Regions from separate parts of the Homo sapiens genome. Here all the other regions are linked to region 3. The links are contacts of gene promoters, found by promoter capture Hi-C in blood cells and fetal thymus (Javierre and others, 2016). All regions are on one chromosome and are shown on one strand. Each heading gives the region's core, a stretch centred on a gene start or on the middle of the fragment in contact. The rest is flanking DNA. Distances are from core to core; before and after follow the strand shown. Region 1 has its middle 34 kb from the start of FPR3. Region 2 has its middle 40 kb from the start of ZNF577. Region 3 holds the start of CEACAM18 (CEA cell adhesion molecule 18). Region 4 holds the start of SIGLEC9 (sialic acid binding Ig like lectin 9). Region 5 holds the start of SIGLEC7 (sialic acid binding Ig like lectin 7). Region 6 holds the start of FPR1 (formyl peptide receptor 1).

Region 1 (3,605 bases), core at 440-2,939, 350 kb before region 3:
AAGCACCAAATGTCTGAACCTGCAGTGCAGTAACATGGCAATGGATGTCACTGTTGTCCTTGATAAGAGTAGTCCCACTGCAGTAATCAGGACATGAACCCATTTAGAATGAGTTCTGGAGAAAATGTGAAATGAGGAAGTAGAGAAAGAAACTGGAAGTGACCCTTGAGTTTGCTGTCAAGGAGAGCAGAGAAATTTGTTGTAAAGTTCAGGAGGACGCGTGTGGTACAAAAGGTTTTTATGTTTTCAGTTAGTAGATTAGAGAACAGATGTATATGCTGATGGCAAAAACACAAAAAGAAAATGGCATGATAAAGTAGACAGAGAGACTATTTTCATTTCTTCCACTCAATTTCTACTAATTTATATTAGTTAATGCTTCATCTTTCCTCTGTTTTTTTTTTTTTTTTTAAACACTAGAAGCATATGCTATGTCAGTCAGGTTTCCACCAGATAAATAGGACTCAAAATGGATCACAGACCTAAATGTAAAAGACAAAATTATAAAACTCCTAGAAGATAACAGGAGAAAATCTAGATGACCTTGGGTTTGGCACCCTGTTGTTTTGACTTTACAAATTGTTACTAAAAACATCTGGGGGTGAGCTCCATTTGCACTGGCCTTGTGGGCAGTTGTTTCCCTTTTGAAGGTGCCCCACTTGACCTCTGAGTGGCTAGTGGGGACAAGGAGTGATAGCAGGAAGGAATGCAGCAACCAAGGAGGCACTGGCCTCAGCAGCACTTGCTCTTGAAAATTGCCAAGGGGACTTGTGCAGTTGCCATATTACAGGTTAGGCTTAGGTGACTTGATCCTTTCATCCTGGCTCTCCTTTATCAACACACTGAAGCCCAGCATTTTATCATCTTTTCTGACTTCACTATGAGGGAATTGCTGCTACCCAGGAGCCTGGTATCCTGTGGCTCTCTCATCAGTGAGATGTGTAGGAGATCGGTCAGGATGGTGGGAAAAGTTGTAAGATAAATTATAGGAAAAGGATGCAAACCTTCTTGGAAGGCCTGGGATTTGCATAGCTTCAGAAGAGGATTTGGCTGAAGGCAGCTGAATTTTCTCAGAATGGATAACAAGGAAGTGTAAAGGAATTGATCTAGATAAGTTAGTTTACTTAGGCCTCGGAACCTGGTATTTAATCATCTGTGCACAGGACTGCTGTCTTGGGGGGTGGGGGGTGACAATGTTAATTACCCACAAGACGTGTTGACTCCAGGCCTTTGTCATTAAATCTGTACTGAATAAATGCCCACAGTGCCAGCTTGTCGGGGCTGTGGCTACTGACTCTTTACAGCTCCCTCCTCGGTGTCTGTGAGCTGCCCAGTCCCCTAGCCTGCTTTTTCACTGGATATCAGTCTCAGAGTGCATTTTTCATCTGTCATTCGGCCAGGTTGGACCCTGGCAGAGATGGACATAGAGTTTCACCATACTGGCCAGCTCACTCTGGCTGGAGACCAGGACTTTGCAACTTATACCCAGTACAGGCCAGACTACTACCAAGACCCCATGTAACAAGAGCAGCATATATAGCTCAAGGGACAACGTGCCCTCAAGTAGTGGCCTGTCACCAGGGGCCTGATTAGAGAAAGAGTGACTACTGTTCATAGCGAAACATCCTCATTACAATGAAACCTGCCCTCCAGGAGCTGCAGGGGAGCCTGAAGGCTCAGAGAGCTGTCTATATTCACCAGAGTTTCTGGAGAGTCCCCAAGGCAACACCTGACAACAGCAGTACTAAGTTGCACAAAGCAACAAAAAATCTAAAACCAGCAAGCAGTAGTGCTGTCCCAGACCGACCAGGCCTGATACAGGAAGTTAGTGAGCCATCCACATGGACATACATTGGGAAGTATTTCTTTGTGGTAACTGTCCCATAACTTTAAAAAAAAAATCTCAGTTTCCTGAACCCACAATATATCATAATGCAATGGGAATTGAGACTCCACAATGAAAACTCCTAAAGAGGAAAAGAAAAATGGAGAGGATGTAGCAGGCACTGTTCTACTGCAATTAACCAAGGCCAGTGGGAAGGAATAGTAAGAATCCCCTGTCCTGGCAGTGGAGGAAGTCTCTTAATTAGCCCATCTGGAAGCCCTGGCTCTCCTATCTAGGTTTTGTCCTTGTGCCTTTTTATTTTCTTTTTCTTTTTCTTCTCCTTTTTTTTTTTTTGAGATGGAATCTTTCTCTGTCTCCCAGGCTAGAGTGCAGTGGCACATTCTCAGCTCATTGCAACCTTCACCTCCCAGGTTCAAACAATTCTCCTTCCTCAGTCTTCCAAGTAGCTGGGATTATAGGTGCACACCACCATGCCCAGATAATTTTTGTATTTTTAGTACAGACAGCGTTTCAACATGTTGGCCAGGCTGGTCTAGAACTCTTGACCTCAAATGATCCACTCACCTCGGCCTCCCAAAGTGCTGGGATTACTGGAGTCAGCCATCATGCCCAGCCTTGTTCCTTATTTTCTATGGCTACACCTTGGCTGGGCATTTAAGAATATACACCTCCTGGGAACTCTAAAGCATTTATAGGAGTCAAACGTGCAAATGAAATGCGCAAAGTGCTCTGCCTTGGAAATGCAATAACTTTAGGAGAGACAGAAGGGAAAAGGAGAAGAAAATGAGTAAAGCAGTGGGGTGAGTGAGAACACTGATAACAGGATTGCCTGATATTCATGTTGAGTGGTGTCTTTTGCCAGTGCATCAGGAAAGTATGTTCACAATACAGAATTGACAATTTCTGAGTGTTTATGTGCAGAAAGCAAGGTAAAGGGCTGAGTTATGAGTTATTTATTTAAATATGAAGTCTTTAGGCAATGGTTAACCAGAGTAGTTTACTTAAGCAGAAACTCAAAATCAGAAATGTTCATGAAAATGTAAGCCAGCTGGGAATTTACAAATACTGTGGACATGAGGATGGGAATTTACTAGACCTGACCTGATTCATATTATGAGGGCTGGAGATAATTTTGACTGGACATTAAGTGATATTATTGTTTATCAATGCCATAAACATTTATTGAGTGCCTATCACATATCAGACACTATCTTATTTGCAGGGGATTGGGATCCATCAGCAAACAATATAGACCAAAATACCTGCCCTCAGATAGCTTACATTCTCATTACTTGAAAGAAACATATCAAGTACCATACAGTTATTATACTGTCTCATGCCAATAAGTGAAACCACATTTGCAAAAATTTTGACAGTGAGAGAAATCTAACGTGGCTGACTCCTTCCTGCCTCTAGCCTCAAAGGTTATCTGTCTTTGTTCACTCCTGGTTGTAGGCTAAGATAACTGGGGAAGAATTTAGTTTATAGTTTAACATGGAAGCAAGGATGATAGTAGGCCTTCCCTAACTAACACCCTTCTTGCTCTGAGACTGAAAAGTAATGAAAGGCCCTAAGATTAGGATTATTCAAGGAGTCTGAATTCTGCTAAAATGTAGGATTATAGTTTCTATAATCCTTTATTGCCAGACGTCATGTGGCCAGAGACACCTGGGCAGTAAAGACCAAGATTTGTGACTTCCCCAATCACTTCTATAGGTAACACCTCTATTGTAGAACCTAGGATTAGTCTTTTGAGATG
Region 2 (3,187 bases), core at 591-3,090, 370 kb before region 3:
AATAAAATGGAACTTCATTCATGTTGCTGTATATGTCAGTAGTTTGTTCTTTTGTTGACGAATAGTATTCCATTGTATAAGTAAACTGGAATAGGTTTATCTGCACCAGTTGATAGGCATCTGGGTTTTTCACTATTTTGAATAACTTCTCATTTCTTTTGGGTAAATGCTTAATAGTTAGATTGCTTGTTTAACATAAAAAGTGGCCAAACTTTTTCGAAGAAGTGGTACCATTTTTGAATGTTACTAACAGTGTATGAGGGTTCCAGTATCGTTTCCTTAACAGCGTTGTCTTTATTTGTACTGCTATAACAAAATGCTTGAGACTGGATAATTTATGAAGAACAGAAATGTAGTTGCTCACAGTTCTGTAGTGGGCAGGGAGTCTAAGATCAAGGTGCTGACATCTGGTGAAGATTTCTTGCTGTGTCCTCACATGGCAAAAGGCAGAAGGGGGTGAACCTACTCCTGTAAGTCCTTTTACAAGTGGTATGAAAGTAGAATTCTCATGAACGAAACGCCTTCCATTAAGCCTCACTTCCCAACACCATTGCACTGGGAATTAAGGTCTCAACACATGAATTTTAGGGGACACATTCAGAACATAGCAAATGTATTCTGAAGAGCAAATCTTCATCCTGCAGACAGGTTAACCCAAACACAAAGAACATAGAAAAAGGAAGTGTTATAAACCATCCATGCACAACCTGTTTTGTATGCGCAACCTATTTTGTTAAACTTACCCTTTCTCCATTGGAGAAGAGTAGGTAATGACACAGAAAGACCTGTGTATAGTTTCCTTCCCCAAACTGTGGAAATAGTTCAAGTTTTTATATAATAAAAGAGACAGAAAATGTGCACATATTTTAAAAGGGGGTAACAGCTTGGCAATTGTGTTGAATGTGTCAGTGCAGAAAACAGATTCATACAATGGAATATTAAAACAAAAAAATGGTTTAGAACTACATACATCAAAAAGATGATTTTTTTCCAGCTCATTATCTAAAGGCAATATAATCTTGACACCAAAACTAGACAGAGGCATTATTAAAATAAAAGATAATTACAGACCAAATATCCCATGAACTTAGATGTACAACTCCTTACAAAATATTAGCAAATTGGGGAAGAGATCAACTTTAAATAATGTTGTTGGGATAATTATCTAGCCAGGGAAAAAAGGAAGTTGACTCCTGCATCACAGTATTGACAAATGTCTGGGTGGGTTGTGCTCTTCAAGATACACAGGATCCCTGTGAGCTACAAATGCTTTTCTTGTGGCCTGGATTGTGGTTGCCCGTGTCTGCTCCACAGGCATCTTTACATTAGTTCTTAAGCCCTCACCATCTCTCCCCACAAACCACACATCCAGAGAGCTCTTCCCATACCACCTCTGTTCGTCCAGATCCAGTTCTAGGTCTCCTAATCTCCATCTTTCTCAGTCGTATGGAGAAAGATTCCATATCTTGGGTATTGTGAATAATGCTTCAGTAAATGTGGGAGTACAGATACCTCTTCCACATAGTGATTTCATTTCCTTTGGGTATATTCCCAGCGTCTTCCGCGTCTTAGCTGTACAAGCTTCCTAATTCTCCCTCCCTTCTTTCCCCTAGGGACCCAGGCTTTTCAATACGGCCTCACCTTTCGTGTGGTTTAGAAGAACGAGGCAGCGTGGGCGCAGCCATTTTCTGTTTCGGTGTGTTCTGATTGGTCAGGTCGGAAGACTAGTTGAAAGTGCCGAAATCCTACTAAGCATGCCCTACGCTGACAGGAAAGAAGGTGGAAGTACAGGATGAGAGGTCTTTAGAAGATTAGAAAGGATCAGTTAGATTTACTCCTTTTCGGCCTGGTCAGCGGAATCCGGTCGCCTAGAATGGCTGTCTCGCAGTCTGTACTGCGTCTTCCAAGATGGTGGCTTCCAACAGCATGTCAGGGCTTGGGCGCGACCATATTGCTGAGCGATCATTCCTGGTGGGACCGGGATCCGCGTCTGTAGATGGATCCTGGCCTTCCAAAGTGCTACTGAGTTTGTATAATAGCTGGAAAGCCTGGCCATCCAGCCCAGTGAGCAGAAGAGGAAATGACGTATGGAAGCTTTGCCTTCCAGGGAGTAAATTCACGGGACTCCTGTGTGAGATTACATTTGACTCTGCCTAAAGCCCTTAGGAATCCCGCAGCGCTGTGGGAATTCCGTGACTTGGGATTGGTTTCTGATGAGTACCATCTGGGGTTGCCGTTTAAGGCCGCTTCGGGGTTGTTGAGGGCTTTTAGGGCCGGCATCAGTGTTTAGAGCTGTGGATTGAGGAAGAAACTAGAGACCATTCTCTCGTTTCTCGTGAAATATCCTCTCCTCATCGTGCTCCCTGCCACAGAGAGAGAGGCCTGGGAGAGCCACCGATGGAGGGGGCCGTCAGGATGTGGTCGGCGAGGACAGGGATTGGCGGTTAGTGATCTGAGGTTTCAGGGGTCCAAGTTTGAGTATTTGGAGGGTCCGTTTTATGCTCCACTTGAAAGTAGGTGTCTGGGGAGGTGTGAGTGAGGCAACAGCAAGATGCTTGGGTGGAGAGCAACACGGACATCGACGGGAGAGGCTGGTGGGGCTGGAACATAAGGAGGCCTCAGCTGTACAGACATTTGGGTGCTGTATTTTACATTGAGGTATTATATTTCCCAATATCTTATGTCGAAGAATTTCAAGTATATAGAAAACTCGAAAGAATAGCAATATGATAACCTGTACAACCAAAATTCATGAGTTGTCAAAATCGTGTCATAAATGCTATGTGTGTGCATGTGTGTGCGTACACGAGTGTTTGTATACACTTGAAATTAGTACTAGCTTTTTATGTCAATTCTACCCTATTTTGTGTGACTTTGGGCAAGATACCCAACTTCTGTAAGTCTCAGTTTTTCCATTATGACAAATTGAAAATATCTACCTTGCAGATGGGTTTTGAGGATTGAGTGAGGTAGTGCATTTGAAGTCCCTGACAAAGTGCTGGCATGTAATGTATTAGTCAGCTTGGGCTGCCATAACAAAATACCATAGACTGAGTGGCTTAAACAAGAGAAACTTGTTTTCTTATAGTTCTGGAAGCTGGAAGTCCGTGATCACAGTGCCAGTGTGGGATGAGTTTTGGTGAGAGATCTTTTTCTGGTTTGCAGATGGCCATCTGTTTTCATATGG
Region 3 (3,271 bases), core at 772-3,271:
TCTCTCCCTGCCAGTGTACATGGGCCCAGGCTGCTGGGCACTGGGCGGTTTGTGGCTGATAATCATGTTTCCTGCGCTGTCGTTTGCACCCCAGTACCAGCTGTATTCCTGAACATCCTCAGGGACCTTATCCAGGGCCACGACAGTCCGATATCCCTTGATCCCCAGGGTTTGGGTGATGAAGATTTGGCCAGAGGCCTGGCAGATCCCACAGGCCAGCAGACTGGCTGAAGAAGACAAGGAAAAAAGACAGAGAGAAATTCACAAAGAGATTCAGACTGGCTGAGAAGACAAGGAAAAAAGACACCATCCGGGAACGATTCCCAGAGACGCTGGTGAACCAGGCAAGAGTTTCTGGCTCCTGGTAGAGTCCCCAGCTTGTCCCCTCCTGTGCCTCCCCTCAGCCCCTGCCGTGGTCCATTTTACCCTTATCTTCTCCCAGGCCCTCCTCGCTAGCCACACAGCCTCCAATCCATCCTCACATCACAGTTACGTAAATGTTAATAAGCCCAAGTTGCGACCCTGTTCTCCTCTGCTCAAACACCTTCCATGGCTCCCCAGTGCTCTTAGGATACAGTCCAAACTCTTAGGTGGGTATATGAAACACTCTCAGCCAGAGCTGGTGTTTGTGACTCATCGAGCCTCCTTGTGGTGCACACCTACCCCATCCTGTCCCCACTATGCACCTTTTACTCATTTATTCCTGTAGTTATTTATCAGAAGACATGACTGCCACGCTGTATGCCCCAGGCCTCTACATAGCTCTCTTGGTGCACCACACCTTCTCCTAACTCCAGGCTTCGCACACGCTGTTCCCCATTCCCGGCAGGGACTCCTTCTCCCTCCTCTCCATCTGCACCCTCCTTGCTGACTCACTTCTATTCATCACTCAGGTCTCAGCTTGGATGTCTCCTCCACCCCAGCCTGGGTCAGGTGTCCCCTCTGGGCTCCCCCAGCTCCTCCTGGGCTCCCCCCATCCCAGCCATGACCTCTGGGGGTCCTCAGAGTCTGGGCACATATCTATATCTCGCCCTGGACTGTGGGCTCCAGGAGGGCAGGACTGCCCTGTCTCAGTCACCACTGAGTCCCCAGCGCCCCTGAGCACAGGCTGGACACAGGGGGAGTTCAGTAATGATTGTCTGGGTGAGAAATACTCCCCCGAGAATTTCTACATGTCTTTGATTTTGCATCTAAATTCACTGGAGTGGGTGTGAATGGAGGCGGCAGCCTGTTACCACATATGACATGGGCAGTTGTCCACTGCCCTGTGAACCCCAAGCCTGGGCTATGTGGAGGAGGCAGAGATGCCTGAGACCCCGGCTCTAGGCCTCACGTATGGACACACTGGACCTGTTCAAGGACAGTACACGTGGTAAAGCAGGACAGTTGTGCTTGTAGGGGGCACAGAAGGTCCTGGGCAAAGGTGAGGGGCTGGGAAGGAATCTGGCCTGAGAGGTGGGGGAGGGGATGGGGCAGATTGGGGCACCCAGTGGGAGGTGAGTGCAGGGAGGTGAGGGTGAAGGTCCAAGCTCCTGATTCCTGGGCGTAGATAGAAACACAGTTTCTCTCTCTCTCTCTCTGTGTGTGCGCGCGTGTGTGTGTGTGCATGTGCGTGTGCGTGTGTGTGTAACACCACATGTGTGGGTCTGTGCAGGGGTGTGTCTAGGGGCAAAGTGTGCCCACGTGTGTGAGCTCATGAAAGTTGTGCTGAGGGTCCTCCCCCTTCTCCTCTCCCCGACCCCTGCTCTGGGAGTTTCTTGATGTGCCCGTGGATGGGGATGGTCCCAGCCCCCTCCCCGCCGCTTTGCTCCTAGCTGCCCTTCCCTCAGTCCTGGGAAGCTCATCCAGCATCCAGCATCTCTTACCCATGAGGAAGACCCTCCTCCACAGGCTCCATCTGGGTCTGGAAAGGTCCATGAGCTGCCTGGGGTCCTCCAGGAGGAGGGGTCCCTCCAGAGACACAGCCACCTCCTCTGCTCCCTCCAAGACCTGTGTCTCCTGGCACAGAGGCTGCCGGTCTCGTCTCCCAGCCTTCAGGGCGGCCTTTCCTCCCCAGGGTGCACTCTGACCAGCAGGGGTGGGGCCTGGGGAAGACGGCTCTTGAGAGCCCAACCTTATCTTTATGGCTTTATGTTGCCTTTAGTTCATTATTTATTTACTTATTTTTATAATAATTTACATTTTTTTCTCTGGTCATGAAAAAACGGAAAAACACAGGCTCACTGTTGGGAAAACAAAGAAAACCAGAAAATACAGCCAAGTGCCTCAAAGATAGGACATCAAACTCCTCAACTGTATGTCCTGTTTCCATTTGGTTTGGTTTTCCTATGCAGGGCCCAGCTTTTTTTTTTTTTTTTTTTTTTTCACGGAGTCTCGCTCTGTCACCAGGCTGGAGTGCAATGGCATGATCTTGGCTCACCGCAACCTCGTCTTCCGGGTCCAAGTGATTCACCTGCCTCAGCCTCCCGAGTAGCTGGGACTACAGGCTCGTGCCACCACACCCAGCTAATTTTTGTGTTTTTAGTAGAGACGGGGTTACATCATGCTGGCCAGGATGGTCTTGATCTCTTGACCTCGTTATCCGCCCACCTCGGCCTCCCAAAGTGCTGAGATTACAGGTGTGAGCCACCGTGCCCGGTGTAGGGCCCAACTTTTAGACTGCCTGGGGCTGTTTTACAACTGGCTGCTTTCCTCCTCAACAGTGGACTATTTCTCTATGTCACTAAATATTCCTCCCATGACCATTGTGAATGGCTGCAGGGAATGCTCTTCTAGACCTGAACCAGTGTGTGTATAACCAGATCCCTTTGTGAAAGTGCTCACAAGCCAAAAAAATCCCTGAGAAATACAGTGGGGAAGGCTGTGAAGCGAGGGCTCTCTGACAACAAAAATTTTCACAGAAGACGCTGCAGAAACCATAGTCTTGCACAAAAGCCATTGCTTCCTTCCACCAAAAAAATACTTCTGTGACAAGTATTTGGACAGCAACCTCCGGTCCAAACTTGGACTGACGTCACCCTCATTAGGGATCCTTGTAGCCTAGGGTAATTATCTCAAACCATTTATGGGGTCCTCCTCATTTTTCCATTGAAAACCCTTTGTGTTCTTTTACCTCCCTGAATATGCACGTAGTTTACTATAGCACCCAGATTCCCATTGCAATGCCCCATTCCTGAATACATATCATTTTCTTTTAGAGAGCTTCTCTCTGTTTGTTATTTAGGTTGACACTTTGTTGTTGGAGGGTCAGGCTGTTTCTAAAAACAGGGAT
Region 4 (3,215 bases), core at 317-2,816, 350 kb after region 3:
CACCTGTCCAGAAGTACTTAGATCAGAACTATCAGAAATAAACAGATAAGGGTGGAGATGTATTCAGGAGATACATGAGAAGGAGCCTCAAAGCCTGGTCCTGCTGTGTGAATGCCACCCTCTTCTTGTTTGAGGCTGAGGGGGGGGTGTGTGGGGGAGTCCAAGGGAGGTGATGGGAGGATGGGAACAAGTGGCCTTGGGGCCTAAGGATACAGAGGGGCCCTGAGTTCACCCACAAGGACATCCCTGTTTGCCAAAGTGAGTCCAGGTTGAGGAATAAGCCAGCCCCATCCTGACCTGAAGGCCCTGCTCCTCCAGCCCCAGGGAGGGAGCTCCATCCTACCTGTGCCGTCTCCTTGGAAGACAGTCATGGTCAAGTTCTGAGGCGGGTCTGGGACAGAAAGACATGGAGACCCGCATCACTGTGAGGGCTGGGGACACTGGCCCTGTCTGTCCCCAGGAGCCGCATAAACAGGGAAGGCAGAGCCAGTGTCCTCCTGACCCCACCACCAGCCCAGATTCCGGGACCCAGCACCCAGTGTCCAGGCTTGACGCTCACCCCATCAGGGACCCAGGCGTCCCGGCCCAGCACTCACAGGACACGTTGAGATGGACGGTCTTGTTCGTGGTCACGCTGGCCCCAGGGAAGGTCACCTGACAGGTGAGGCTGGTGCCATGGTCCTGGGGCTGTGGGATGAGGGTGAGCACCGAGGAGCGGGTGGTGGAGGGGTCCAGGGGGGACACGGAGGTCCCTATCCAGGAGATCATAGGGGGTGTCCCCTGCTCACAGGCCCAGGGCACAGAGCAGGTCAGATTCTGGGGGCAGCCGGACTCCAGGGTGCCTGGGATGAGGATGTTGGGCCTGTGGGTCAAGGCTGGTGAAGAGAGGGGGACTCAGGATCAGGTCAGAGGATCCATGGTGCAGCCCTGGGGGGAGCTCAGGCTCTGGTCCAGCTCCTGCCCTGAGCCAACTCGCTTCACCCTAAGCCCTCTCCTGGGGCAGGGGCTCCATCCCAGCCTTTCCCTGCCGCCCCCATGACCTTTCCCTGTGGCCTTTCCTGGAGCCTGTGCCTTACCTGTCACATTCACAGAGAGCCGGTGATGTTTATAATTCCATTTTATACTTCCTTTCTCCATACGAAAGAAGTATCTCCCCGCATCACTTCTTCTGGCATCTCTGATGCTCAGGGTGCAATTCTTGGTATGTGGGTCCCCAAGGAGGTGGAATCGGTCCCGAGTCTCCTCCCACACTGCCCGAGCTGGGTTGTTTGTGGCCACTGGAGCATCCTGGTCTGTATTGGCCCCTTCCCGGAACCAGTAGCCATGAACTACTGGGCCAGGGTAAATCCAGCCATGCGAGGGGTAGGAGAAGGAGCAGGGCACATGGACACACAGGCCTTCCTGCACCGTCACGGAACTCTGCATCGTCAGCAGTTTACTTGTCTGTCCTTCCGCCCTCTCCCTCCCCCAGAGCAGGGGCAGCAGCAGCAGCAGCATGTCTGGGGTTAGAGGTGCCAGGGCCGCGAGGGAACGTCTGTTCCTCAGGGTTCTTCTCTCAGGAACTGCGGGCTCAAGACTTAGAGGAGGCCCTACAGGAAGACAGGGGCGAGGTCGGAACAGTGACCTCCTCAGAGGAGGAACTTTACACCCAGACACTGTCAGGCCCGGGTCAGCCCTGGGAGATCCACCGTCCACCACCCCATGTTCACTCCTGGGTCCCTGAGGCCAGAGCGGGAGACAGACTCACCCAGATTCCCACCCCATGCAGGGCCCACCCCACCTCCTGCCTCCCTCTCAATGCCCTTCCCCTTAGGTGACATTTTCTGCAGGGTGAAAATGAGTCCCATCTGGCCAGACCCCTGAGTCAGAGGCTGTGGATATCTGCGTAGCTCAGAGGTGGGACTTGGGGCCATGAGAGATGGGGGTGCAGGTGGGGTGAGCAGGCAGCCTCTCATCCCCCCCAAGCAAGCACGAGGTGGGCACCCCCTTTCTGCACAACGAGGTCAACACAGCAGAGCTGGACACTGTCCCCAAGGGGTCACTGTGCGGAGGGGAGACATGGAGGCTCCTGACGTCTGAGCTGTCCACGGCAGGAGCTTCAGTTGGGGGGCACAGGCAGGATGGGGTCACTCTCCCGTAGGTCAGGGGTTCAATCTCAGGAGGACTGAGCAGAGGGACATGGGGCTGTGGAGGTGAGGATTCTATGTGTTGATACACGCCAAGGACACAGAGGGGAGCCTGGCTCGCAGGAGGTCTGGGAAACTGAGGCTGTGACTGTTGTACTGTGGGGCTTGGAAGGGAGGAAATTCGGAAGAAAAGGGGCAGATTTCAAAAGGGAAGATATTTCTCCTTTCCTCACTGCACCACGAAGGGTTTCTTCACCACCGATGTCTCGCTCAGCCACACTTCCCTGGTTACTCCAGAACATGAGGGATCAGCTGGCCCTGGGGCTTTGCTTCTGCAAGCTCTGCTCCCAGGGGTCCCGGTGAACAGGAGATGTGGAGTGAGGACACCAGCCCCGGGGCATGCACCCTCCGCGATGGGCAGGATTTCATGGGAGAAGAAACATGCACCTGAATTCAGCAGAAGATTTTTTGTAACTGTGTGGCTGGGCTGGGAGGAACTGGGAGTATCCTGTGTGGTGGAGCCTCCTTAGACCGATGTCAGTTTTCTAGAAATATTTTTGGGAGAAATATAAGCCATATAGATAAAAATGTCTTCCCCCCAAGAAAAAATCTCAGCGGTTTACACATATGAACATGCTTAGAGAAACAGAACACTGGGGATGCCGCAACACCTCCTCTTTGTTACCCCACTTCCTGTCAGCCACACCCCACTTCCTCCTGAAGCAGCCCCAGCCTCACTTTAACGCTAATGGTCTCCATGCTTTTCTAGGTAGTTTTATCATCTGTGCACGTTGCCGTGAATACCTCAGGCCCCCATGTTTGCCCAGTCGCTCCCTGGGAAGTTGCAGCATCTCAACTGCAATGGTCAGAAGGGCTGAGCCATGGCTGACAGTGTTGTCCTGCATCTGTTCTGCAGGGCTGGGTGTCCACATCTGAGTTCTGTCTTGAGCAGGAGGGGCTCAGTCAGGCCTCTCAGCACTGCTCCCCTGGGGCCCTCCACACCTGCAGAGCCAACACGGGCCTCAGATTAGCATCGGCCACTTCAATTCTAACTCAGGCGGGACAGGACAGCTCAGCCCCACCTGGAAC
Region 5 (3,339 bases), core at 793-3,292, 340 kb after region 3:
TCAGGCTCTGGTTCAGCTTCTGCCCTGAGCCCAACTCGCTTCACCCTCAGCCCTCTCCCAGGGCAGGGGCCCCATCCCAGGCTTTCGCTGCCACCCCCATGACCTTTCCCTGTGGTGTCTCCTGGAGCCTGTGCCTTATCTGTCACATTCACAGAGAGCTGCTTCGTTTTGTAATTCCATCTTATCTGTCCTCTCTCCACCTGGAAGTAGTAGTTCCTCAAATCCCCCTTCCTGGCATCTCTGATGCTCAGGGAGCAGTTGTTGGTCTTCAGGTCCCCAAGGAGGTGGAATCGGCCCCGTGTCTCCTGCACTTTTCCATTTGGGATGTTTGTGGCCACTGGATTATTCCATTGTATATTGATCCCTTTCTTAAACCAGCATCCATGGACAGGGCTAGAGTCAGTTCAGTTGTAATAGGGTTAAAGGACACTGCAGGGCACAGAGACGCACTAGCCCTCCTGCACCATCACCAACTCCAGCACCTCCAGCCTGTATCTTGACAGTGGGGCCTGGGACGCTGTGGGGAAATGAGGCTCAGCCCAGCCCCGACTGTCCCTCTCTTCATTTGCCCACAAGAGAGGCAGCAGCATCTCTGAGACAGAGGGTTCCTGGGCTCCTTGTGTGAGCAGAGAAGTGGGAGGGAGAGGAGGGGCAGGGCTGTGGGACCCACAGGGGGCTGGAGAGGGGCTGGAGAGGAGCTGGAGACCTCAACCCAGCACGAAAGAGAAACTACAAACCCACATGCTATAGGAACTGGTTCCCTCTGCACAGAGTGAAGGAAACCCTGAAGCTCAGAGACCCTAGAGACCCACCCAGGGAGGAGAAGAGACCGTGTCCCACCTCCTACCTCCGGGCTTCCCTGGAGCACCAGGGCCTGCACCAGACACGTAGGTCCTGCCCTCCCGGCCTCTGGACCATCGTGGAGGTCCCTCCTGTCTTTTGAGCATCTAAATGTGGATCTCCGAGGACCTCAGGGCATGAGAGATGGAGGGGCCGTGTGCTGAGTCTCCCTGTCCAGGCTCAGGTGCCTCTGCTGCCCTTGGTTTGCGCCAGGAAGTGCTTCCTCCCTGGCCTGGCCTGAGAGAGTCACGGGGTTGTGTAGACCTAAGGCTCTCAACTGGGGAGGACTTAACCCCCCAGGACGTTTAACAATGTGTGGAGATAATTGTTATTGTCTCACTGCATGGGTGGAGTGGGTGCTTCTGGCATCTGGTGGGGAGAGGCCTGGGATGGTGCTAAACCCCGGCCATGCCTAGGACAGGCCCCAAAACAAGGAGTCATAAGGCCCCACATGCCACAATGCCAGCGTCAGAGGCAGGATGAGGATGTCAGGCCTGTGGGTCAGGGCTGGTGAGGGGAGGGGCCTGCAGGATCAGGAGGGGCATCCAAGGTGCGGTCCTGGGGAAGCTCAGGCTCTGGTCCAGCTCCTCTCCTGAGTCCATCACCCCCGGCCCCCTCCCAGGACATGTGTCCCGTCTCAGCCGTGCCCTAAAGCCCTCATCACATTTGCCTTTGGCCTCTCTTGGAGCCCGTGCCTTACCTGTCACGTTCACAGAGAGCTGGTCATATTTATAATTCCATTTTATATTTCCTTTCTCCATACGAAAGAAGTATCTCCCCGCATCACTCATTCTGGCATCTCTGATGCTCAGGGTGCAATTTTTGGTCTGTGGGTCCCCAAGGAGGTGGAATCGGTCCCGAGTTTCCTCCTGCACTGCCCAAGCTGGGTTGTTTGTGGCCACTGGAGCCTTCCAGCTTATATCATTCCCTGCCCGGAACCAGTAGCCATGAACTGGGTCAGAGTCAGTCTGGCTGTCCACTGGGTAGGAGAAGGAGCAGCGCACATGGACACACATGCCCTCTTGCACGGTCACGGAACTCTGCATCGTCAGCGAGTAATCCTTCCGGTTACTCTTCTGTCCTTCCACCCTCTCCCTCCCCCAGAGCAGGGGCAGCAGCAGCAGCAGCAGCATATCTGGGGTTGGAGGTGCCAGGGCCGCGAGGGAACGTCTGTTCCTCAGGGTTCTTCTCTCAGGAACTGCGGGCTCAAGACTTAGAAGAGGCCCTACAGGAAGTCGGTGGTGAGGTCAAAACAGTGACCTCCTTAGAAGAAGAACTTCACACACAGACACTGTCAGGGCTGGGTCAGCCCTGGGAGATCCACCGTCCACCACCCGACATTCACTCCTGGGTCCCTGAGGCCAGAGCGGGAGACAGACTCACCCAGATTCCCACCCCATGCAGGGCCCACCCCACCTCCTGCCTCCCTCTCAATGCCTTTCCCTTTAGGTGATATTTTCTGCAGGGTGAAAATAACTCCCATCTGCCCAGACCCCTGAGTCACAGGCTGTGGATGTCTGCGTAGCTCAGAAGTGGGACTCGGGGCCATGAGAGACAGGGGTGCAGGTGGGGTGAACAGGCAGCCTCTCATCCCTCCCTCAGCAGCCACGAGGTGGGCACCCCCTTTCTGCACAATGAGGTCAACACAGCAGAGCCGGACACTGTCCCCAAGGAGTCACTGTGTGGTGGGGAGACACTGAGTCTCCTGACGTTTGAGCTCCCCATGACAGGAGCTTCAGTGGGGGGCACAGGCAGGGTGGGGTCACTCTCCCCTAGGTCGGGGGTTCAGTCTCAGGAGGACCGAGCAGACGGACATGGGGCTGTGAAGGTGAGGATTGCGCCTGTTGATACACGCCAAGGACACGGAGGGGAGCCCAGCCTGCAGGAGGCCGGGGAAGCTGAGGCTGTGATTGTTGTATTGTGGGGCTTGGTAGACAGGAAAGTCATAAGGGAAAGGATCAATATGAAAAGAGCAGACACTATTCCCATCCTCACAGCTCTCTGAGCACAAGGACATTTCCCTTCACCACTGCTATCTCATGAGGCCTGGTTAGTGCAGAGTGTGAGGGGTCTGCTGGCCCTGGGGCTTTGCTCCTGCAGGAACTGCTCCTAGGGGTTCAGGTGAACAGGAGACGTGGAGCAAAGACACCAGCCCCGGGGCGTCCACCCTCAGTGATGGGCGCGATTTTCTGAGAGAAGAAACACGCACCTGACTTCAACAGAAGATTATTTTAAACTGTGTGACTGGGCTGGGAGGAAGTGGGAAAAATCCTGCAAGCTGCAGCCCCCTTAGATCCAGGCCAGCTTTTCTTGAAACAGTTTTTTTTGAGCGGGGAGAAACACAAGACATGTACATAAAAGTGTCCCCTAAAAACCAACTCAGTGATTCACACAAAATAAGCACCCTTGAAGAACTAGAACACAAAAGAACTGTCAAGTCTGTCCCTTGAAATGAAGAAAGAGATTTTATTAATTCATTCACCCTTACATTCCCCTTTC
Region 6 (3,170 bases), core at 671-3,170, 270 kb before region 3:
AGGGTATTTTGTGCCATGCAAAACTTATATGAAGTCCAATTGTCGTGTTTTAAATAAAGTTTTATTGACATACAGTCATGCTCCTCATTTACAACTTTGCTTGTGGCTGTTTTCAGGCTACAACAGCAGAGCCAAGGAGTTGTGATGGAGACCCTATGGCCTGCCAAATGAAATATATTGACCATCTGGCTCTTCATAGGAAATGTTTGTGGCCCAGTGCAGTGGTTCCGTCCTGTAATCCCAGCACTTTGGGAGGCCAAGGCAAGTGATTGTTTGAGGTCAGGAGTTCAAGACCAGCCTGGTCAACGTGGCAAAACCATATCTCTACTTAAAAAATACAAAAATTAGCCAGGCGTGGTGGCGGGCACCTGTAATCCCAGCTACTGGAGAGGCTGAGGCAGGGGAATCACTTGAACCTAGGAGGCAAAACTGCAGTGAGCCAAGATCACACCACCGTACTCCAGCCTGGGTGACACAGTGAGACTCTGTCTCAAAAAAAAAAAGTTGGGGGAAATGTTTGAGACCCCTGGATTAGCTGGCTTGTCCGGAGCTAGTGAACAGTAGTCCTGGGATTCTAGTCCAGGCAATCTGGCTTTACCACCTCAGTCCAGTGCTTTACTGGGAGGCTGTGCTGCTCGCCGAGGCCATTTCTCATGTTTCAGTTACCAGAAGAGTCAGGGACTTTTGCAGCATAGGCAGGAATACTCCCATTCCGGTCAACCCTAAGACATCTTCCCTTTTAGCCTTACGCAAACACAGAAGTGGAAGTCCATTTTAAGACTTTCGCTTTTTTCTTCACCATAGTCACTTTGGAACACACACTTGGCTCTATTTTTGCCCAACCTAGTGTGCTAATCACAGGCCATTTGGTAGCCAGGAAGAAAACCTACTTATGTTTTAGAAAAGAGGGCTCATGGGAAACAGGTAGGGGTGTCCCAGGACCCCCGTTTTAGGAAGAACAGTCAGACTTCAAAAGACCTACAAATTTTTCTGGCAATTACTCTCTGTGGAGTCCCTTGTCTCTTGTTTTCTCTTGACATTTGGGCCCTTCTCCTCTGTGCATAATGATGTCCTCTGCCATTCCCTTTATTTTAATCCCCTTACAAAGTGTTGGCTTCCATGTGACTCCTAGGCACGTCTTCATTTGTTACCCTTCATACCTTGGGAATCTTCTAAAATGCATCTGTTGTTATGATCCCAAGAAAATGTTTATAAAATACAAACACAAATGTTTATAAAGTACAAATGAACATATCACCCTTCTGATTAAAGATCTTCAGTGATTCTCCATCTCATCCCCATCCTCCTGGTGTGGGATGCTGGAGTGTAGCAGTCCCCAACATTTTTGGCACCAGGGACCAGTTTCATAAAAAACAATTTCTCCATGGGGTGGCGGGGTAGATGGTTTCAGGATGATTTAAGCACATTGCATTTATTGTAGACTTTATTTCTATTATTATTATTACATTGTAATACACAATGAAATAATTATACAACTCACAATGATGTAGAATCCGTGGGAGCCCTGAGCTTGCTTTCCCGCAACTAGACAGTCCCATCTGGGAGTGATGGGAGACAGTGACAGATCATCAGGCATTAGATTCTCATAAGGAGCACACAACCCAGATCCCTGGCATGCACAGTTCACAGTAGGGTTCACACTGTTATGAGAATCTAATGCCGCCACTAATCTGACAGGAGGCAGAGCTCAGGCAGTAATGCCAGCAATGGGGAGTGGCTATAAATACAGATGAAGCTTCTCTTGCTCACCTGCCAGTCACCTGCTGTGCAGCCCACTTCCTAACAGGCCACAGACCGGTATCGGTCTGTGTATTGGTCTATGGCCTGGAGGTTGGGGACCCCTGCTGTAATGTGAAGTCAGGAGCTGTGGTAGCTTTCTTGGAGCCATGAAGTGGCAATCCCCAGGAAAAAAAGTCACCATATTAGGGATAAAAAAGAGAAAAGATTAAAATGAATGTAGTTCTTGATGATATTTTCCAGATATAACCTAACCTAGTATTACCCTCTTGCAAAATTCTTGTAAAGTAAACCATAAATTTCGTCTTGGTTCTAAGCTAAGCTTGTCCAGCCCATGGCCTAAGATGGCTTTGAATGCAGCCCAACACAAATTCATAAACTTTCTTAAAACATTATCAGATTTTTGGGGGATTTTTTTTTTTTTTTTTTTTTTTAGCTCATCAGGTATCGTTAGTGTTAGTGTATTTTATGTGTGGCCCAAGACAATTCTTCTTCTTCCAGTGTGGCCCAGGGAAGGCAAAAGATTGGACACCCCTTGTTGAAGCCATTGTTAGGTGTAATTGTAAATTATAAATTACTTAGAATTAAAAACAGCCCGGCTCATGCCTGTAATCCCAGCATTTGGGGAGGCTGAGGCAGGAGGATCACTAAACCCAGGGGTCTGAGACATGCCTGGGCAACGTAGCAGGATACTGTCTCTAAAAGAAAAGAAAAAACAGTCTTAATGCAACAATGCCTTGGTAATAATGCTTTTAGAATCAGTGTCGTTATCTCTGATTCTGTAACTGTCTTACCATATTTCTCCATATCACTCTGATACCCTTGGAAGGATGCTTAACATTTCAGAAAAACGGTTATTTCTTTGGGCTAGAAGACTACAAATGAGCTTCCACAAGATCAGAGGATTATGGGGTTAATCTTGGTGGTGTGCATGGGTGTGGACGCGCTGTCCTGCCAACTGTCTCAACTTCCCCCACTCCCTTACCTCTCTCTGTGTTTCTGGTCTCCATCCCTCATGACTTCTTCTCTTCCTTTCATTGCCTCCCTCTGATTCTTCTCACCACAGTGCTTGCTGCTTTCTTTACCTTGACCCTTGGAGGGAGCAGGGGCCCGGACACTTGGATTTCTTGGCCCTTGTTGTTGAGAGCACTGAACCTCTGCATCCCACAGAGACTGAGGCTGAGAAATACAGTCAGGTACATGAGTTTCTAAACAGGCCCAGCCCACTGTCCTAATGCCATTAAAGCAGACAGTATATTGGTGTATTCTTGGGGCCATCAAAAATCAGAAGAAGCTCAGACTTCCTATTTCCTGCTACCCAGCTGGTTTTAGTTCCTTTACCCCTCCTCCTGTTCCTTGGTGTATGTTTTGCTGCAATCATTAGAGCCTGAGTCACTCTCCCCAGGAGACCC

Evidence for each region. Contacts are between HindIII fragments. The CHiCAGO score rates a contact against its expected background, and 5 or more counts as called.
Region 1: a contact is called between a fragment that was not itself captured here and the fragment with the promoter of CEACAM18 in region 3, in 4 of 17 cell types (monocytes, M2 macrophages, M0 macrophages and 1 more). The highest score is 17.6, in monocytes.
Region 2: a fragment that was not itself captured here is called in contact with the fragment with the promoter of CEACAM18 in region 3 in 2 of 17 cell types (monocytes and M0 macrophages); the score reaches 7.1 in monocytes.
Region 4: the fragment with the promoter of SIGLEC9 here is called in contact with the fragment with the promoter of CEACAM18 in region 3 in 4 of 17 cell types (neutrophils, naive CD8 T cells, total CD8 T cells and 1 more); the score reaches 9.8 in neutrophils.
Region 5: the fragment with the promoter of SIGLEC7 here is called in contact with the fragment with the promoter of CEACAM18 in region 3 in 11 of 17 cell types (fetal thymus, total B cells, neutrophils and 8 more); the score reaches 15.5 in fetal thymus.
Region 6: a contact is called between a fragment that was not itself captured here and the fragment with the promoter of CEACAM18 in region 3, in 5 of 17 cell types (naive CD4 T cells, naive B cells, naive CD8 T cells and 2 more). The highest score is 6.9, in naive CD4 T cells.

What each region holds. Positions count from the first base shown.
Region 1 is chr19:51,826,942-51,830,546 of GRCh38, reverse strand. It overlaps a transcript of ZNF577 not described here. Among named protein-coding and RNA genes, the nearest start is that of FPR3, 34 kb to the right of the region's middle. The HindIII fragment of the contact is 6,940 bases long and covers 1-3,605 here.
Region 2 is chr19:51,846,749-51,849,935 of GRCh38, reverse strand. It overlaps a transcript of ZNF577 not described here. Among named protein-coding and RNA genes, the nearest start is that of ZNF577, 40 kb to the left of the region's middle. RefSeq lists an enhancer at 1,415-2,614. The HindIII fragment of the contact is 513 bases long and covers 1,584-2,096 here.
Region 3 is chr19:51,477,289-51,480,559 of GRCh38, reverse strand. CEACAM18 (CEA cell adhesion molecule 18) reads right to left here and starts at 2,021. Exons shown (of 6, transcript NM_001405061.1): 1 at 1,866-2,021; 2 at 1-227. The coding sequence starts at 1,917. The HindIII fragment of the contact is 9,749 bases long and covers 1-3,271 here.
Region 4 is chr19:51,123,257-51,126,471 of GRCh38, reverse strand. SIGLEC9 (sialic acid binding Ig like lectin 9) reads right to left here and starts at 1,566. Exons shown (of 7, transcript NM_014441.3): 1 at 1,077-1,566; 2 at 597-875; 3 at 344-391. The coding sequence starts at 1,497. The HindIII fragment of the contact is 17,590 bases long and covers 1-3,215 here.
Region 5 is chr19:51,141,004-51,144,342 of GRCh38, reverse strand. It overlaps SIGLEC7 (sialic acid binding Ig like lectin 7), which reads right to left and starts at 2,042. Exons shown (of 7, transcript NM_014385.4): 1 at 1,541-2,042. The coding sequence starts at 1,973. The HindIII fragment of the contact is 9,764 bases long and covers 1-3,339 here.
Region 6 is chr19:51,751,861-51,755,030 of GRCh38, reverse strand. It overlaps FPR1 (formyl peptide receptor 1), which reads left to right and starts at 3,153. Exons shown (of 2, transcript NM_002029.4): 1 at 3,153-3,170. The HindIII fragment of the contact is 324 bases long and covers 1,759-2,082 here.